3 separate regions of the Homo sapiens genome follow, and regions 2 and 3 are each linked to region 1. The links are contacts of gene promoters, found by promoter capture Hi-C in blood cells and fetal thymus (Javierre and others, 2016). All regions are on one chromosome and are shown on one strand. The core of a region is centred on a gene start or on the middle of the fragment in contact, and the rest is flanking DNA. Distances in the headings are between cores, read along the strand shown.

Region 1 (3,001 bases), core at 286-2,785:
TTTGTATTTTTAGTAATGACGGGGTTTCACCACGTTAGCCAGGCTGGTCTCAAACACCTGACCTCAAATGATCTGCCCCGCCTCAGCCTTTATCTTTAATTCAATGTTGGACTTTATCTAAGGGAGTGCTGTAAATTAGCTTCGAGTTTTAGAAAATTCACTCTAAAAGTCGGGCACGGCAGATGTCCTCGGATACTCGAAAGAGGCCTTAACAGATGAGGTAGGGTTAACAGGTTTAGAGACCTGGGCTGGTAAACACAGAATGAAGATGCTGCACTGTGGAAATGGCCCTTAAGTCCCCGGGATAAAAATGTCTCTATATTGCTTTTCTCCTAAACTTTACATTATGAAAATTTAAAAACATGAAAGAAGACCGAATAGAGTAACGTACTCGATTTACTCACATTCAGCTGAAACCATTATCAAGACACCAAGTCTGTGTCATTTCTGCCTCACGCCCCATTCCCTGTCCCGTTATTTTGAAGGAAATCCCAGAGGGCCTAGAGAGTGTTCACACGATACCTTATCCGTTATGTCACCGTCCTCCGAGGAATTTTCACTCTTTTCTTCATCTTCTGCAAAACGGACTCTCTTCCCCCTCCTTTTCTCCTGCGCTCCCTTTTCCTTTTCTTCCCCCTGTTCCTCTTCTGTATCCTCGTCGTCGTCCTCGCTCTGCGCTTCTGCTTCCTGCGCCTTCTTTTCCTTTTCTACGTCTCCCTCCTCCTCCTCCTCACTTTCGTCCTGGGAGTCACTCTCTAAGTCACTTTCGGGGAGTGTCTGTCCGGCATCTTCCTCCTCCTCACCACTGCTGTCGTACAAGCCGCTATTTTTCCCAGACTCCAGGGCTCCCAGAATATAGTCAAGACCGTCGCGTGCAAAGCTCAGCGGCACGGAGCTGCTGCCGTCCTTCTTTTTGCGCTTGTTCAAACCGAGGCAACGCTCCAGCTTTCGGATCTCTCGGTCCTCCTCCTCGTTCGCCGCTAAAAGCGCCCGTTTCCGGGCAGCGGCGGTGGCGGCTGCGGAGGGTCTGGTCTTTGCGGTGGCGGCCGTGGCCTTGGCCTTGACCCGGGACGGCCGCGGCTTCCTGGGAGGCGAGGGGTCCCGACTAGGGGCTGGGCGGGCGCGCTCCTCCGTGTCCTGCCGGTGACCGCTGGCTTCTTCGGCTCCGCTTCGGCCTCCCAGGCCGGGACCCTGTTCGGGGCCCGCCGTCCTCTGCAGCCGGCGTGCTTTCCGCAGGTGCCGCTTCTCCTTCCTCAGTTCCTTACGGCTTTTTCTCCCTCCCGGGCGAAAGCTCACCGGGGCGCCGCGCCCCTCGCAACCCCCGGGAGCCTCGCCTTCCGAAGTCGCGTGCACGAACTCCTCCACCGCTAGCTTCAGCCTCTTCAGGGCCTTCTCCCCACCGCCAGCAGGACCGCGGCGCGGCCCGCGCCCGCCTCTGCGCTTCATGCGGACCACGCGTCCCTGGGAGCCGCCCGGGCCGGCCTCTCCCGCGCTCCTGGACGCCGCCATCTTTCGAAACGCGTGGACGCACGACTTCCGGCCGAGGCGGGACTTCCGGGGAAGAGGCGGCTGCGCGGGGCGGGCGGGCGGCGCCCCCTGCTGGCCGGAGGGCGACAGCGTGCAGAGCTGCGCGGAGCCGGGTGCGGGGGCAGCCGGGCAGGTGGCGCCCGGGGCAGGCGCGCCCGCGGGTGGGCGCCGCGTGGACGTCAGGCTCGCGATGAGCATGGAGGTGCCTTCACATTTAAAAGGGAAATCCGGCCGGGCGCGGTGGCTCACGCCTGTAATCCCAGCACTTTGGGAGGCCGAGACGGGTGGATCACCTGAAGTCAGGAGTTCGAGACCAGCCTGGCCAACCTGGTGAAACCCACCCACCCCCCTACAAAAATTAGCTGAGCGTGGGGGCACGCGCCTGTAATCCCAGCTACTCGGAGGCTGAGGCAGGAGAATCGCTTGAACCACGGAGGCGGAGGTTGCAGTGAGCCGAAATGGCGCCATTGCACTCCAGCCTGGGCGACAGAGCGAGACTCCAAAGGGAAATCCTCGCGTATGATGGAGGGGAGACTCCGCGCGGGTCGGCGCGGTGCCGGAGGTTGGCGGCGGCGACGACGCTGGGATGCGCGGGCCCCAGGTTCGTGTCCGCCCAGGACCCAGGAATGCGACCTTATTTGGAAATAGGGCCTTTGCAGATGTGGTCGAGAGGAGCCCTCGTGGGTTAGGACTGGCCCCAGAGCCAGCGTTCTCCTGAGAAGCAGGCTCTGGATACGGACCAGGGAGACGCCTGTGGCCCCCAGGCGGCCGAGGACCCCTGAGGAGCCGGCCCTGCCCAGGCTGGGTTTGGACGCTGGGCCCCGAGGGCAGAGCGTTTGAGGTTCCTCTTTACTGGGTAACTTGAACCGGGAAGCGAACGCAGAGGCCGCGCAGTTTGCGTCTGGATTTTTGGGAAGCCCGGAGGCGCAGGAGCAGCCTCGCCTAGCAGTGAGCTGGGGGAAGACGGGGCTGCTGCTGTGGGGTTCTCGGCCTGACCAGGGGCCGCTTCTCTTCCCGGACAGCTTCAGAAGCTTCATTTCCACAGAGTTCCCACCCTTGACTTAATTTAATTTAATTTAATTTTTTTTCTTTTTTTTTTCTTGAGACCGAGTCTCACTCTGTTGCCCAGGCCGGAGTGCAATGGCGGACCAAAGTGCTGGGATTACAGGCAAGCCACCGCGCCCGGCCCGTCCTTGACTTTAAAATGATTTAATTTTTGTCAACTTGTCAGCTCAAAATGGCATCTTGTCATTTAGTTCCTGATGAGAGTGGGTGTCTTTGTTCACTGGCCATTTGTATTTCCTCCTCTGTTTATGGCCTTTGTCCATTTTCCTTATAGGTTTTACGAATTTTTTTAAATATAAAATTTATTTAATATAAATTTAAAGTAGAGACAGGGTCTCCCTGTGTTGTCCAGGCAGGTCTCAAACTCCTAAGCTCAAATCCTAAAGTATTGGGATTACAGGTGTGAGCC
Region 2 (3,001 bases), core at 374-2,873, 240 kb before region 1:
TCTTCCAGCCTCGACCTACTGCCTAATTCCAGAGCCACTTTTCCATTTTTAGATATTTGTTACAGCAGCATTCTAAGTACCTAGAAAAGTCTTTTATGCCTACTTCTCTGCCAGATGACCTGAATATGCTACTAGATTTGGAATATTCACCTTTCTCCAGGATCACTGCTTATTTCAAAGAGGTGAAATTACCTGTGCTAGGGTTTTCATACCAGGAGTGCTACCAGAACTACCACAGGATGGAAGTGGTGAGCCCACCACTGCAGAGAAGTTTTCTCAGTGCCATAATTTAGAGGAATTCTTCTCAAGACAAGCCCAACTCCTTTTCACTTAACTGAAAACAACCTGTATAATGTATAACAGCCAGCCCCATTTCAAAAAGATTACCAGGGGTAAAACAACTTTTTCATGGGTCAAAATCATCTTCCAAAGAAAATGATTTCTTAAAAGAACTGAACATTGTAAATCAAAGGGCATTGTCCTGTTTTGGATTAACAAAACAGGAAAAAACAACCAAACCTTGTAAAATTATTTGAAATTTTGTTCATATCAGTTCAGTGCCTATAGATGCACATACAAAAACAACTGCCATTTTTGTAAATAATAGTCTTCCAAAATAGAGATTTACGTTAGGAGAGAATTAAACATCCAGGAGGGATGAACAGTATTTCATGTGTGCTATGTAGTGTTTTGCTTCATTGAGAGTCATTTTCATGAATTATTTTTACTACTGCAGTCATCTTAAATTTGTAATCATCTCAAAAAAGATGTCACAATGAACAGACAACCATGTGTGAGGTCAGTCATTTTGCATGATGCATGTAATCAAAAAGTTTCAAATGTCTGCTTACTAATAAAGAATGTTTTCACCAAAAAAAAAAAAAAAAGACAAATTTCTGAAGGTTATTTAGTCTGGGGCTCTACTTCTAAAATGTAAAGAAGTGATATTCTTCTCCCACATAGTGGGATAGATTAAAAATTACTCATTAAGCTTTATTTAGCTGTAACAATCCTATGAGTTAATCAGTAAGCCGGGTCATAAATTCAGGCCAGTTTTCCACGGGGACTCTCTTGAGTTATGAAAGAGAACACAATGGAAGACACTGGCTCCCACACAAGGAGTCAAGGCCACCACAGCATGGCATCCTCTGAGAATTCCCCTCTAAGTCCAGGTGCCACAGGTAAAAGAAACAGCGAGACACCCAATGATCTGTCGAACTCTTATAGCACACAAGTACAAAGGCAATAATTTGTTCTTCTGAAATTTTTCTTTTTAAAAAAATATTACTGGACACTTCTAATGCCATAAAAAGCAATAAAACAGATATATAATAATTTGCATCAGATAATGCAAGATTCAAAATAAATTCCAATGTCCTTACTAATAAAAATTTTAAGGTGTATTTCGTCTGGAGACAAGCTGCTAAAAATTGCTCTTCACAAACTAGGAGCTAAGAGTAGGAGGTAAGCCTTAGACACTCAGGCGCGCTAGCATTCCAGCATTGACACCAGAACCAATTTAAACAGCCAGCCCTTCTTACTGGCAACTGATTTTCTTTAATTAAAAGATTTACAGATTCAAAAAACATACTTTCCCTCATGCTACAGTTTAAATTAAAATGGGGGAAAGTGGCATTCACTACCTCAAATGTCTTCTTTGATAATCCCTTCTTTTTTTTTTTTTTAAGTTCATGTCTTTTATTAACTCATACGCAGTTACTTGTCTTCTGGTTTGTTGAAGCAGTAGTCAGACAACATTTGCCACAATAATGTCTGTCAAAGTGACTTGCCATAAACACTCCAGCACCACATTCATCAGAAGGGCACTCTCGACGAAGGCAGCTCATTTTGTCATTCTCATCCACCTTCTAATACTTCAGGACAGCCAGCTTCCCCTTCTTTCTCTTGCGCTTATTCTTCTTGGGAGTGGGGTAAGACTCCTTCCTTTTCTTAGCACCACCACGAAGTCTCAACACAAGATGAAGAGTAAGCTCCTTTTGAATGTTGTAGTCAGACAGTACATCCATCTTCCAGTTGCTTGCCAGCAAAGATCAGTCTTTGCTGATCAGGAGGAATTCCTTCCTTATCCTGGATCTTGGCCTTTACATTTTCTATCATATCCAAGGGTTCAACCTTGAGGGTGATGGTCTTCCCCGTAAGGGTTTTTATGGAAATCTGCATTTTGGTGGCGGCTCCACCGCAGATGGCGGATCGAAAAGGAAGCCCCTTCTCTTACTATTTCTTAACAAGCTTAAAAGAAAACTTTAAAAACGTGGTAGGGATTTAGAATCACTTTGGTGGAATATGCTTCTTCCAAGTGTACTCATATTTCCCGGGAAACAATTATCATTCACAAATGTTCTAAGAATTCTTAGAAGATTCAGAACTATGAATGATATTGCTGAAGCTGACGAAGGCAAGTCTATTTTATTTATTTGATGTGTCTAACAACAGCTAGTGGAAATTAGTTTATAATCTAGATAGGATTTCAAAATACATTTAATTTTAAGATCACTATGTGCTGAAATGTTTAAAAGCTCATCAATGTTATTTGAACTTCATGAAAGAGAATGCAATTTTTAACATGAATCAATAGCTTATTAATTCTATTGATTATAATGAAAATATCACTGATAATAAAAGCAGCTATGAAATTATAGACAAAATTTACTTCTCTCTCCAGGCACATCCTCAATATTTTTTCCAAAATATTATAAAAACTTGTTTACAAACACATGGACGGTATATATATTTAATTCTACACATACAATGAAAAACAAATCTGTATTTTTCTGCTTTGAAGTCATCTGTGTAATCATTTTATCCCAAATTATTAAAGTATAAGATATGAAGCTATAAATCTCTCAGAGCTAAAGAGCATTCATCCCCACCACATACACCACAGTTCTTAGAAAACACATGGCAAAGAAATGGTTAGAAAACACACGAGGGGCTGGGCGCAGTGACTTGCACCTGCAATCCCAGCACTCTGGGAGGCTGA
Region 3 (3,001 bases), core at 159-2,658, 200 kb before region 1:
AAAATAAAACAAAAAAACTATAGTAATTGGTTTTGGTAGGCCCTAGAGTATCCTCATTCCATAAGGCCAGTATCACCCTAATACCAAACCAGACAAAGACATCACAAAAACACCCTAAATTGATGTCCCTCATCAAAAGAGATGCAAAAATCCTGAACAAAATATCAACAAGCTCAATCTAACATCGTATACAAAGAATTATGCATCACAGTCAAGTGGGATTTATTCCAGATACGCAAGACGGGCTCAATATTCTAAAATGACTTAATGTGATCCATCATATCCACAAGCTGCAGAAGGAAAATCACATAACATTAACAGATACAGAAAAAGCATCTGACAAAACCCAACCTTCATTCATGATAAAATTCTGCAAACTAGGAATAGAGGGGAATTTCCCCAATTTGATAAAGAATATCTACCAAAAAACCCACCAAACATCATACTTCATGATGAGAAACTCAAAGCTTTCCCACTAAGATTAAGAACAAGGCAAGTTCTCACCACTCCTTTTCAACTATAATCCTACCTAATGCAGTAAGACAATAAAACACATTGCTTTCTGATGGTCTTAGAAAAGAAAAAAGAAAAAAAAGGCATACAGATCAGGAAGGAAGAAATAAAACTGTCTTTGGTTGCAAATGAAATGATTATCTGTGCAGGAAATTCCAAGTATCAACCAAAAAACCACTCCTGGAACTAAGAAGTGATTATAGCAAGATTTCAGGACATAAGGTTAGTACATGAAAGTCAATTGCTTCTCTACAAATAAGCAATGAACTGGAATTTGAAACTGAAACACAATACCATTCACATTAGCACCCCTTAAAAATAAACGCTTAGGTATAAATCTAACAAAATAGGTATAAGGTATATATAAGGAAAATTATATAACCAATGAAAGAAATAAAAGAACTAAACAAATTAAGAGATATTCCATATTCATGGATAGGAAGGCTCAACACTGTCAAGATTTTAGTTTTTCCCAACTTGATCTACCAATTCAGCACAATCCCAATCAAAATTCCACAGGTTTTTTTTGTGAATATCAACAAACTGACTCTTATGGAGAGGCAAAAGATCCACAATAGCCAACACAATACTAAAGAAGAAGGAAGTCGAAGGACTCACACTACCAGACTTCAATGCTTACTATGGTTGGGCGCGGTGTCTCACTCCCGTAACCCCAGCACTTTGGGAGGCTGAGGCAGGCGGATCACTTCAGGTCAGGAGTTCAAGACCAGCCTGGCCAACATGGTGAAATCCAGTTTCTACTAAAAATACAAAAATTAACCAGGTGTGGTGGCACATGCCCACCCAGCTACTCAGGATGCTGAGGCAGAAGAACCACTTGAACCCAGAAGGCAGAGTTTGCAGTGAGCCGAGGTCACAACACTGCACTCCAGCCTGGGCAACAGGAGGCTCCCTCTCAAATTAAAAAAAAGTTTAGTTTAATATATATACTAAGTAGTACAGTTTACTACAGATCTGTTACAGTAATCAAGATGGTATGGTATTGACAAAAGGGAGAGAGATCAATGGAGGAGAGAATAAAGCCATAACAGAGCTTAGAAACAGATCGTAAAGGCCGGACGCAGGGGCTCATGCCTGTAATCCCAGCACTTTGGGACGCCCAGGCGGGCAGATCACGAGGTCAGGAGTTCGAGACCAGCCTGACCAACATGGTGAAACCCCCGTCTGTACTAGAGTAGCCAGGTGTGGTGGTGCACACCTGTAATCCTAGCTACTCGGTAGGCTGAGGCCGGAGAACTGCTTGACAGAGGTTGCAGTGAGCCGAGATTGCGCCACTGCACTCCAGCCTGGGAGACAGAGCGAGACTTCGTCTCAAAAAAAAAAAAGAAATAGATCCATAAAAATATAGCCAACTGATCTTTGACAAAGGAGCAAAGGCAGGCATTCAATGGAGTTGGGGAATGTCTTTTCAGAAATGGTGCTAACTGGACATCCACAAACAAAAAAACTTCAAAAATTAAAAATCTAGACACAGATTTTATATCCTTCACATAAATTAACTCAAAATGGATCAGAGACCTAAATGTAAAATACAAAATTATAAAACTACTAGAAAATACGAGAAAATCTAGGTTACCTTGGCTTTGGTAATGACTTTTTAGACACAACGCGAGAAGCAAGATCCATGAAAAAAACACTGGTGAGCTGGACTTCATTAAAATTCAATAGTTCTCCAATGTCACAAATGTACCACACAGATACAAGATGTAAATAACAAAGGAAACAGCGTGCAGCGGAGAGGAGGTTTTGAGGACTCTATTATAGTTTCCCATCAATTATTCTGTAAACCGTAAACCACTCTAAAAAAAAAGCTTATTAATTGATAAAAAATAAAGTAAAAAGAAATGAACTGTCAAGCCATGAAAAGAGCCTTAAATGCATAGTACTAAGTGAAAGAAACCAATCTGAAAAGATTACATAGTATATGATTCCAACTATATGACATTCTGGAAAAGGCTAGAGTAGAAACAGTAAAAAGATCAGTGGTTGCCAGGTGTTACAGGGATGGGAGGGATGGATGAATATGCAATGAGGATTTCTTCCTTTTTTCTTTTTTAAAAGAGTATCACTCTCGTCACCTAGGCTGGAGTGCAATGGCGTGATCTCAGCTAACTGCAATCTCTGCCTCTCGGGTTCAAGCAATTCTCCTGCCTCAGCCTCCTGAGTAGCTGCAATTACAGGCACCTGTCACCACGCCTGGCTAATTTTTGTATTTTTAGTAGAGATAGAGTATCACCATGTTGACCAGGCTGGTCTCGAACTCTTGACTCCAGGTGATACACCCTCCTTGGCCTTCCAAAGTGCCGGGCCTCCTCCTTTTTTCTTTTTTTTGGAGACAGAGTCATGCTCTGTCACCCAGGCTGGAATGCGCTGGCACAATCCAGGCTCACTGCAACCTCCACCTCCAGGGCTCAAGTAATTCTCCTGCCTCAGCCTCCCACGCCCAGCTAATTTTTTGTATTTTTAG

The links. Contacts are between HindIII fragments. The CHiCAGO score rates a contact against its expected background, and 5 or more counts as called.
Region 2: a contact is called between a fragment that was not itself captured here and the fragment with the promoter of NOM1 in region 1, in 1 of 17 cell types (megakaryocytes). The highest score is 5.9, in megakaryocytes.
Region 3: a fragment that was not itself captured here is called in contact with the fragment with the promoter of NOM1 in region 1 in 1 of 17 cell types (erythroblasts); the score reaches 5.1 in erythroblasts.

Annotation. Positions count from the first base shown.
Region 1 is chr7:156,948,246-156,951,246 of GRCh38, reverse strand. NOM1 (nucleolar protein with MIF4G domain 1) reads right to left here and starts at 1,535. Exons shown (of 11, transcript NM_138400.2): 1 at 523-1,535. The coding sequence starts at 1,509. RefSeq lists silencers at 1,115-1,164, 1,445-1,794 and an enhancer at 1,855-2,383. The HindIII fragment of the contact is 6,978 bases long and covers 1-2,560 here.
Region 2 is chr7:157,191,548-157,194,548 of GRCh38, reverse strand. All of the region lies in intron 10 of UBE3C (ubiquitin protein ligase E3C), which reads right to left. It also overlaps the pseudogene RPS27AP12 and the pseudogene LOC777650. Among named protein-coding and RNA genes, the nearest start is that of UBE3C, 54 kb to the right of the region's middle. The HindIII fragment of the contact is 1,259 bases long and covers 994-2,252 here.
Region 3 is chr7:157,145,106-157,148,106 of GRCh38, reverse strand. The region is part of intron 1 of UBE3C (ubiquitin protein ligase E3C); the gene reads right to left. Among named protein-coding and RNA genes, the nearest start is that of UBE3C, 7.7 kb to the right of the region's middle. The HindIII fragment of the contact is 1,878 bases long and covers 470-2,347 here.